Linked DNA regions of Homo sapiens: all the other regions are linked to region 1. Evidence: promoter capture Hi-C in human tissues and cell types (Jung and others, 2019). All regions are on one chromosome and are shown on one strand. The core of a region is centred on a gene start or on the middle of the fragment in contact, and the rest is flanking DNA. Distances in the headings are between cores, read along the strand shown. Region 1 holds the start of NDST3 (N-deacetylase and N-sulfotransferase 3). Region 2 has its middle 34 kb from the start of LINC02264. Region 3 overlaps NDST3 (N-deacetylase and N-sulfotransferase 3).

Region 1 (3,667 bases), core at 532-3,031:
TGCAAAGTCCAGTAGAAGAGAGTCCACTTTCTTAAGAGAGGAAGGAAAAAAAAAAGTCCCAGAATGGTGGTTTTTTTCTGTTTTTCTCTCTGATTGGCCAGACCTGGGTTACATACCTACCCATGCTACCAGGACAGAAAGCCATCACTGGCCAGACCTGAGCTGTGGGTCTACCAGTGAGTCAGCAGCGGCTGACATCACCTAAAGCAAATGGGCTGCGGGGTGAGATCAAGTGGTTGGATCTTCCAAAATGAACAGGAGTACTGTTTCAACAAGAGTGAGTGCTGGGAAGCAAAACCACAAATGGCCAATACAAAGTATCATTAGTAGACCCCACTTAATACAATTCACATGTTAGTGGAACCAAATGAAATTTTTAAAAATATATATCATTCGATTCACACTTCTAATCAAACTATAGTTCTGGAGAGGGTAACCTCACACCTTGAATCCAAAATATCTCTTCAGTTGCTGGCCTTCCACTTGTCTTCAGGAGCTGAAACACATGGCATTTGAAAAAAACTGGCGAACAGAGGAAACTCTTGCAGCCTCGCAGCCGCCCTGGTCCAGTGCCAACGGCAGGAGCACCACAGGAAGGGACCGCGCGGGTGCGCCCCACCCTTCCAGCGTCGCCTCGGGGACTCGCACCCCTTTCCCTGGCCGCACAAGACGTTTCATCCTTGGCGGCCGCCGCCAACCCGCCGGGAGGGGCGGTCGGAACTGGCAGGCCGGGGCGGAACCCCCGGGGTCTCCTTGTCGAGGCCCGGGCAGCCAGATCCTCAGGGCCGGTCCGGGCGGGAGCCCGGTCGATGGAGGCGGCTCCCGTCCTCAGCTCCCGCTCCCTCCCCTTCCCCGGGGCGGGCGCGCGCGGGCCGGGAGCTGGGAGGCGGCGGCTCCCGCCCGGGAGGCGGTGGCGAGGGCGGCGGAGGCGCGGCCGGGCGGGTCCCAGGGCCGTGGTTCTCCAGCGCAGGAGTCCCCGGCGCACCCGCTGCGCTCGCCCCGCAGCCGCAGCCTGAGCGGCCGAAGTCGCCACCAGCTGTGTCCGCGCAGATCCCGGGCGCGGAGGGGAGAGGTCGCCCGCTTGTCGCCCCCGCCGGACCCCGGGCACCGCGTAGCACCCAAGCGCCACCCGGACGAGGGGCCCTGGGGAGCGGCTGAGGCCGAAGACCCGAGGGAAGGAGGAGCCCGCGGACGGCTGCAGCCCCAGGTAATCTCCATGGAGGACGGGGCCGGTCTCCTCGCCCAGAAACCCGATCCGGGCGCCTTGGAATGCGGACTCCAGAGGCGGCATCTCGACCAGACAAGTTTCTCGCGGCTTGGAATGAGGGAGTCCTGAAACCGACACTCGTTTTATTTAACCAGCTTTTTTCTCCTGTTTTAAATAAGTTTATTTAGACAATGGAAAGAAAAAAACAAACAGCCTCTTGAGTGACTGTGGGTTTGTAAATATAATCCTAAAAGTTTTTCATGGTGTGGTTATTTGCTTGCTCATATTTATTAACCTGTTAACTCTTCCGCTAGTCAGAAAATTGACATGTAAAATATTCTTTGAGGAACGTTACAAGTTTGCTGTTGTATTCGGGCATCCTGTTATTCATCAGCTTAGTTAGCATCTGTCTTCCCCCGAAGTGGTACCAAAGCCGGTCCCTTGGCGACGGGTCTTGCATGTGACACTCTTGCCCTCTAGTGCCTCACCAGCTTGGTAGCAGTTTGATGGCTAATATTAATAAGATGTTACATAACATGAGAGTACTGGGCCAGGACTGGTGTTGCTACCACTTGTAAAGTCAAAAAGCCTGAGCCGATGGTAACGAGTGGTACTGTTTCCGTTTCTTTTCCATCTATTGCAACTTTCTCAAGCATTTTCAGCTCTGAACTTTAATTCCAGGTAAGTGTATTTATTTATTTATACTGTGCATTAATGCCTCACTCATAAATGTAGGGGCTTTTAAGAGATAACAACTTTGCTTTCAAATAATCTAAAAATTTCAAGATTGAACAAGTGCTTCATTTTATTCTTGAAGAAGAAATATAGAGTATTTTGATTAAATTAAGTGAAACAAAGGACCGTCTCATTCAGGGATGATTTTAAAGCTTCCCTTTCATAAGATTATGGTACTAAAGAAATGACCTCTTGTAATTGTTTAAGATATTCACCAACTTATAATGATTCTGAAGTAGATCTGTTTAACAGAACACATGTCTGTTGCCTTGACAGAATTTTGTAAGGAATATCAGAGACTTTAAACTACCTGCCTATCTACACAGTAATGATCCTCAAAAGGCTTTCTATTTGATGCAGTTTATAGACATTATTTAAAACTATACAATTAATAAAATTAAATGGAAATGGAAAGAATCAATCTAGGTATCAAATACAGAAACTTTAAATTTAAAGAAAACAGATATATCTTCTATTTAATATATCCATTTTGTGGGGGCAGGTAAAAGCAAAGTTACATCTTTAAGGGGTTTACTCAGATCCTTTTTCAAATAGTTTTTCTAATAGCTGGATACTGTTTAAGCATCAGAGTTATTTAATGTCGAAAATGTATTAGTATCTATATTCTTTATAAACATATTGAAATATAGCAACATGTAATCTGGAAGAGTTTAGAAGAAAACCCTTCTAGACAATGCAAACAGCTACATTCTTAATACATTTGTATTAAATTAAAATACAAATCAAATATTGAGATGTGTGCAACTGATCTGGGACACACACTTTTTTTTTGTTTTTTTTTTTTGCCCTTAGAAAATTTCATGTTATCAACTACTGAGCAATGCTGTTCACCACCAGAGAGCAGGATGATATGGCAGAGAAACTCTAGAATATCCGATATTCAGCTGAAGGGAATTTTTTTCCCTTTTTCTTCATCCATACCTTCCTATCAATATTATATTTAAGATGGAGATTTCAAATATAAGTTTGAAGGAGGCTCCTTTTTAAAATAGTACTGAACATATAAAGAGGCTTGCCTAAGATAAGCTCTTTTTTTTCTTTCTCTGGTTAACACAGTATCTACCATTTCTAATTTTGTTATCATTTTTCTTTATCATCTTGATGGTAAAACAGAAGATTTGTTTCTTTGTGTAAATAATGTTAATTTTGAGCTTGTCACATGAGTTAATTTTCTTCATAGTCTTTAAAATGAAGAATTCTTACATTACTAAAATGTTTTAGATAAAATAAAACTTTTATCTCTTTCTGGAGATATTTGTTATAGTTTAGTTTGGTGGAGTTATATATACCCTCTTTTTAAATTAATTTTCTTGAGAAAAGCATTATTTCTGAACATTGAGGCAAATATTAATTTTTGGTGTAACTGAAAAGTTTGTTAAAAAATATATAGTAGAAGAGATAATCAGGCATTGGAGATTCTTTTTCTAAACCATATATTCTGCTAAAGAAGTTATTATAAGCTAAAATGTAAATATGTAATTGTCTACCTGTCATTTCAAAATTTTAAAACTGTAAAGAAATTACAATTTTTTTTCTTTTAATCTTGGGACTCTGATTATATGACTTCCTTGAAACCTGATTGAGTTTCAGCTGCTTTTTGGTGATTAGAGCCTTAAAAGTGCATTTGTTAAGATGCAAAATATATTTTTTTAAACTATATGTAAATACTTTGTGATTTATATACACTATAAAATCAGGGAAATT
Region 2 (3,667 bases), core at 408-2,907, 230 kb before region 1:
TCAAAAAGATAGAGATGGAAATGTGGGGGAGCCAAAGCAGCCAGAGTTCACAGTGCAGAGTACCAGAAAAGGGAGAACAGCACAGAGAGGGAACTCAGAGATCTGCAAAGGGTCCTCCTCACATTTTTTTTTTTTTTTTTTTTTTTGAGACAGAGTCTTGCTCTGTCGCCCAGGCTGGAGTGCAGTGGCGCGATCTCGGCTCACTGCAAGCTCCGCCTCCCGGGTTCATGCCATTCTCCTGCCTCAGACTCCAGAGCAGCTGGGACTACAGGCGCCTGCCACCACGCCCCGCTAAGTTTTTGTATTTTTAGTAGAGACGGGGTTTCACCGTGTTAGCCAGGACCTCCTCACTTCTTTAGTTGAGAACTGCTCTGCACATACATTTTAAAAAAATTGCCCAAGATTGGGAAAATAACTTGTAGAAAAGATAAGGAAAACAAAGACTATTACTTAAAAATTGCACAAAGCCAGGAATGTTTTCTTTTTTCACCAGCCAGAGTAGAAGACTTAATTGTTGAACTTAGGAAGAAGGGTTTTATCTTAGCAATGTGTAAAATTAGATGAAAATGTTGTTCTGGTACTGCCTAACAAAGTTTAAAGCAGAACCTGCAAGAATAAAAGCTTTATTCCAGAAATACAAGCTTGTTTTAACACTTTAAAAACTATCAATTTAATTCACTGTATTAACAGACTAAAAAAGGAAGAACGTATGATCATCTCCATAGATGCAGAAAAAGCATTTGACAAAATCCAATATCCATTTCTTATAAAAACTCTAAACAAAGAATAGAAAGAAACTTTAAATGCTTTCCCCCTAGATATGGGACAAGCCCACATCCATTATTATCACTTTCATTCAGCACTGTACTAAGGTCCTAGACAATGCAACGAGGCCAAAAAATGAAATTAAAGGCATACAGACTGCAAAGGAAAATAAATTTTTTTGCTCTCATACATGATTGTCTATGCAGAAAATTCTATGAAATCTGCAAAAATGCTTCTAGAAGAAGTTAGTTTAGCAAGTTTACAAAATACAAGATAAATATAAATATCTATAATATTTCTTTACACTGAAAGCAAATAATTGGAAAATAAAATTATTAAATTCCGACGAAAGCTGTGCAAGATCTGTAGACTGAAAACTACCGAACTTTGTTGAGGGAAAATTAAAGAAGATCAAAATAAATTAAAAGACATCCTGTGTCTATAAATCAAACAACTCAAATTTGTGAAGATGTTACTTTCCTCCAAATTGAGCTACAGACTTAAAGCAAATCCAGACCACAATCTTTGCAGTTTTTTGTCTTGTTTTGTTTGTTTTTTGTTTTTTTGTAGGAATTAACAAGCTGATTCTAAAATTGACATGGAAATAGAAAGAACCAGTAAATAGCCAAAACGACTTTGGAAAATAACAAAAAGTTTGCAAGATTTGCAGTACCTTTCTTCAAGACTCATTATAAAGCTATGGTAATCAAGACAATGATTTTAAGATAGACAAATAAATTAGTTAAATAGAAAAGAAATTCTAGAAATAAATTCAAACATATCCAAACAATTGATTTTTGGCAAAATCAAAGCCCATTTAATGAAAAAAGGATAGTGTTTTCAACAAATGATGCTGGATGGGTTTGGGCCCAGAAAAAATTAGCATATGTGTAATAAGCAATAGTAAAAAATAAATTGCTCCTAAGAACAGTGGCTGACAGTTAGGAAAGCTGACTGCCGACCTACTTAATAGAACCTTTCTCAGCATACGTTTATTTATTAATTTTTTTCAGATACGACACAGTGCCTGATATCAGTTTTATTAACTGTCTTGTCAGCAGTGGACTCTGCACAATATTAAAAGCAAACTGGTGTCCCAAAGGAAGGAAACAACATGCCACTTCTCAGCAGCATGTCAATCTTCGGGAACGCTAATCTCTGCTATCAACAGGTCTAACATTGATTAGATCTTCAAACTGTATGTAGTTAGTTGTGAGGCGCATGCCTTACAGAGGCAGAGCAAGAAAGGATGGTGTTGAAATTTAGAAAGGTAAGAAAAATGAAATGCAAAATATTGCAGGAACTATTATGATTAAAATTTATACAGCCATATGCAGGCACAATAAGTTTCATACAATATGCCAATCCCTAACACGCTACCAAATACAACCTCCATGAGTTCAGGGGCTTTTGTCTATTATGCTTACTACTGAGATAGAGAGGTAGAAATTATTTTTTTAGGAATTTATAAATAATCACATATTTTGACTTCAATGACATTATGAGTAGATTTACATGAAAATTTTAACAGTAATTTAGAAATACACACACACGAGCCAATCCTCATTATTTGCAGATTTTGTATTTTCAAATTTGTCTACTTGATAAAATTTATCTGTAACCAAAACCAATACTCTTGGCATTTACAAAGGCATTTGCGGAGGGGCAAAATATTTGAGTTGCCTGACAGCTGCAGGTTCCTGAGGTCGAACAAGGTAACACTCTGCCATGTTGTTTCAGTTTTTATACTGTAAACACATGTCTTATTCAGGATCTATTGAGTACCACATTTTTTGCATTTCTGTACTTACTGTTGGTGATTTTGCTGTTTTAAATGGCCTCAAACATGGTGTGGAAGTGCTATCTTATGTTTCTAAACACAAGAAGACTGTGATGGGCCTTACAGAGAAAATATTTGTTAGTTAAGCTTCATTCAAGCATGAATTATAGGGCTATTGACCGTGAGTTAAATGCTAATGAATCAACAAACAGTATATCCAGAAAAAAAAAAAGAGGAAATTTGCTGATTTGTACATAAGACCGTTCCAGAAACTGCTGAAGTAACATTTATAGCATATAATGAAGCTATGGAACAGTTGGAAAAAAATAGCTAAATTTGTGAATTCATGAGATGACAACTGATTAGAAAAAAAAGCATAGTGGGCAGCATTATTGTAAGGTTCAAAGTCAAAGAAAATTACTGTAATGTTACCCAGGGTCAGGAAAACGTTAAATTCTTCTCAGCTAGTGCTGTCTGCCTCACACATTTCAAAAGGTGGTATGGTGTGAAAAATGCTAAACTTGCAGGCAAGCAGGTTGTTCAGTTCAGGAGGCAGCAAAAGAATGTTGAAAATATCTGCTAAGTGTTATACAGGAAAAGGGTCATGGGGAAGAGCAGGATTTTAATGCGATTGTGACTGGCTTATTTTACATGGACTTGGCCAAAGGAACCTATATAACACAAATGACTTCCAAAGCCCCAGGCTCTAAATCATTCAAAGACTGTTCAATCAATTATTTGTAAGAAATATATATATATATATATATCTTATATATATATAAAATATAAATATATATATATTACATAAGGTGCTTTAAACAGAATGACACATAAAACAAGGTTATGCATTGATTGGCTGATGAAAATATGATCAGAGACTCACAGGAATCAAACCTTCTATTTCTCCTGTCAGTTATACCTCAGAAAAGCTGGAAAAATCTATAACATATAAATTTTATGCTAAGTGAAATTTAGTTAAGAAAGACATACTATATCTTACCCATCTAAGTGCTCCTTGATTAGCATAGTAATTAGCATGTGTTAGGCCCTCAATGAATATAAGTTGAGAAATTATATTTAAGGGAAGATATCTTGTTTATTTGTTTTGTATCTCAACCAGCT
Region 3 (3,667 bases), core at 439-2,938, 210 kb after region 1:
AAATAAATTCGTAAAGCCTGAGCCTATTTAACAGGCAATATGGGGCTTCTTGGAAGTATGAACAGGTGAGTAACTAGGTAGTTTAGGAACTGACTCTTCTCTCATTTGTGTAATTTTCAGAAACAATGTCATACAGCAAGAAATAGTCCATAGGTGATTGAATAAGCAGAGAGAGATGTACTATTATCGCTCCTAAACAAACGTCCTTTTTTATTTTTTCATCTTTGTCTTTATCCACTATTTGACCCTGTCATCTCTGCTTCAGAGTCCTCAGCAGTTAAAGCACTGGTTTGATTTTTCTGTTTGTTTGTATGGTTTTTTGCTGGTTTCCTCCGATTTTCTTAGGTAACTGACTCTGTAAGGTCCATGACCAGGGACCAGTAAGGAACTAGGGCTGAAGAAGGCAGTCACTCTCGGAGGTGTGCCCATGCCTGAGACTGAGTGCTGTGTCCTAGGTGCCTCTCTTACCTCACCCTAGTGCTGACTCTGGGCTTCACTTAGCATTTTTGAAGAAGACCTCTATCTTACTGCGTCCATTTAGAATAGTTGGCAATCAGATTTAGGAGAATTATATTTGTTCCTACCACATGTGTAGAGCAACTGGAAGATACTGAGTTGGATTGGGTCATGGACCTGACTCACACCGTAAGTTGGTTTTTTTTTAATTACATGGACTGAGCCTTAAAAAAAAACTGAAAAAGACTATCATGGAATTTTTCCATTGTGTTTTTCAGTATAAAACTCAGTTCCACAGATCGAGTAGTTTTCCCTTTTTTTGTACTCTTTAATATCAATTTAGAAAGTGAGAGGCAGGTTTCCTTTACCTTTCAACAAACTTTGCAGGAAAAAAAGATTAGCAGGAAAACATCAAATACTGCTTATATCTCCTACAAATCAAATATAGAGACACGTAAGGGAGGCATTTTGCTGTAGAGGACAAAGGAGTAGGTGGAACTCTGCAGTTTTGAGCTTCCTTCCTAAGAGTCATTTATACTTTGCTGTTATTATTAACCTTCTGACCTCTGTGTTTTCTATACTATGAGTACTGTCAGAGTTTTGTATAGCTTAGTTCAAGTACTAACACAGACACTGGCCTTAGGTATTTAACATTCAACTTGACCTTAAAGAAAGCTGAGTGATTTCAGTTTGCACTTAAAAATTCAAGACCATTTTCTGTTCTGTATCTTTTTAAGCATCTCTTGGAAAAGAAAGCTTTTATTTTCTAAACAGTTTTCTATTTCAAGTTAGGTTATCTGTGGGTCTTTTTTATAGAGTATGTAGCAAAGCATTGTATTTCAGAAAAAAAGAAGTACAGTATTCTATAAAGACAGAGTTGCTTTTTCTTATGGGATGGTCCTTGACCTGCATGCTGTGTATTTGTCCCCTCTGCAGCCAGCTCAGCAGCAAGCTTTTTATTCATCTCCACTGCTGAGAAAAGGCAGTGTAAACTTAAGAGAATATCAAAGCAACATACTATATACAAAGAACCGTAGTCCGTTTGCACCTGAGCTGTATCTAGCTAAAATTACTGATTATATGATTCTCTAACCTGGTTGGGGGCTCAGTGGGTGAAATAGCAAGATAAGATATGTGTAGTCCCTGAAACCACAGTTTCTATTCCAGCAGTGCCACCCAGGCTCTCACCCTGCAGGTGGAGATACTGTGTTTCCATTCCATTTCTTTTTATATTTTCTTGTCAATCATCAATTGGCCTGACATACCTTGTAAAACCTGGCAGTGCACTAGTTGTAGAATATTTGGAAGTTTCATGTCATTGTCTTGGGTCTAAATTGATCATCCTTCACCCTATGCCCTTTGTAGTTGTTTATCTGAAACCTGTCTTCACAATTTAGTTACTCCTATTAGAGTAACTATACTGATAGCTGTTTCTGTAGTGCTTTGGAAATACTGAGGATGACTAGAGGTACAAAATATATATCGTCAGAAATGCCATTTATACCAGTTTGTATACTTTGTACACTTTGGTATTGCTTCTTATTTTTTCTTCTTATTTTCCTGCTGGTGATAATGACGACTATCTCATTGGTGCTTAAAATTTTTTTTTTCTCATTGGAAGTCCTCTAAGGATATAGTAAACTGTAAACCAATATGAATTCTCAACTAACTACATAAATCTAGTGCTTTGCATGTAGTAGAATAAATGAATGAAGCAAGGTCTATACAAATGTTTTGCTATGCAATCTTGGTGTGAAAGAGTACTCCAATTTAAGATATCTCTAAACTTATTATCTTCCATATAGCAAATTTCAGCATCAAAACTATTTTCAAGAAGAATCACAATAAGCCCCCAATGTCAAGATTGTTGTTTATTCTTTTCCACAAGTGCTAAAGAAAGCGTTCAAGACTTTTAAAGATATACAAAGTCACTGAAGAATCTGTGATGTCTTAAAATGACTTATTACTGTTATCATGGGTGTTAAATGACATATTTAATGTTAAATAATCTGATTTTCTCAGTGATTGTGTGAATGAAATAAGCAAAATAAGCTTTAAAAATATAAATAAGAACTTTCTCATTCAATCAAGTAAATTATAATTTACAACTCTTGTTCCACATACCCTTAATCCCTAAATGGGATTAATATATTAACATTACTTTAGTTTTTGTGTTACATGTTATATAGTGTTTTGAAGCAATCATTTGAAATAAGACAGGAAAAACAATGCTTAGCATGGAATTGTACTAATTTGTATACACTAAAATGAAAAATATGAACTTTTAGTTTTGCCATGAATACATCTGTTCACAATAATACCTAGCCATCAATGCCAATGACAGATGTCTTCATGTTTAGAAATACTAGTTAGCTAAATACCTGAACCTGGCATCTTTATGTCTCAGTCAGTTAACCTATTTGTCAAGATGAATGAAACCAGACTATGTTATATGAATTTTTAGTATTAATTTACTTTGAAAATGTCAATAAATGGGCAATGAGAAGTTGAAAGCCGAGAGTTGAGTATAGTTGTTTGTTTGTTTTGTGGACAGAGGTTAGCTAAGTCACGAAGGACTGAAGCTGCTTCAAAATTCAGAAGGACTTCAATAGCTTTTAATATAACTTCCTTGGCAACGAAATTTATATTGCCCGGGAATTGTTTTCCTACCCACTGTAGATAAATTTTAGTACAAATGTACTACACTAAAACTTTCTTATTAGCAAATTATAGTAGCCACAGTAACTAAAATCTGCTGGTTCTCTGGATGGCATGAAAGAACACCTAGAAATGCTGAGTAGGGAAAAGAAAAAAATAGTCTATTCTAATTTCTTATTATAAATTTTTAAGTGGTTGTAACAGTTCAAAATAAATATACATTTATATGTCCTATATATCTCTCTCTCTTCATAAAAACACAATGTGATACGTACAATTAGCTCCATTTTTTCAGATTAAAAAAAACTGGGGCACAGGAAAGTTAAGCCAAAGGTCACTCAGCAAGTAAGTTGAGGAGGCAGGATTGAAACTCAATCAGTTATCTCTGGAACCTACATTGCCAACCTGTTAAGCTCTTCATATTGGCACAGGATGTTAGAACCACAGAAAAACAATACTGTGAATTTTTAATAGTGAATAGCATATTAACAGGAAGTGCTTCCTTAAAAAGAACTAGAGCCTTAAAATGAGCTATGGAAGTTGTTTCAGATTT

Evidence for each region. Contacts are between HindIII fragments. The study calls those that stand out against the background at their distance.
Region 2: a fragment that was not itself captured here is called in contact with the fragment with the promoter of NDST3 in region 1 in 2 of the 25 tissues and cell types used here (heart left ventricle and mesenchymal stem cells).
Region 3: a contact is called between a fragment that was not itself captured here and the fragment with the promoter of NDST3 in region 1, in 4 of the 25 tissues and cell types used here (H1 embryonic stem cells, mesenchymal stem cells, mesendoderm cells and 1 more).

What each region holds. Positions count from the first base shown.
Region 1 is chr4:118,032,705-118,036,371 of GRCh38, forward strand. NDST3 (N-deacetylase and N-sulfotransferase 3) reads left to right here and starts at 1,782. Exons shown (of 14, transcript NM_004784.3): 1 at 1,782-1,888. The HindIII fragment of the contact is 9,214 bases long and covers 1-3,667 here.
Region 2 is chr4:117,798,895-117,802,561 of GRCh38, forward strand. No RefSeq gene overlaps it. Among named protein-coding and RNA genes, the nearest start is that of LINC02264, 34 kb to the right of the region's middle. The HindIII fragment of the contact is 3,283 bases long and covers 17-3,299 here.
Region 3 is chr4:118,242,436-118,246,102 of GRCh38, forward strand. All of the region lies in intron 12 of NDST3 (N-deacetylase and N-sulfotransferase 3), which reads left to right. Among named protein-coding and RNA genes, the nearest start is that of SNHG8, 34 kb to the right of the region's middle. The HindIII fragment of the contact is 5,164 bases long and covers 1-3,667 here.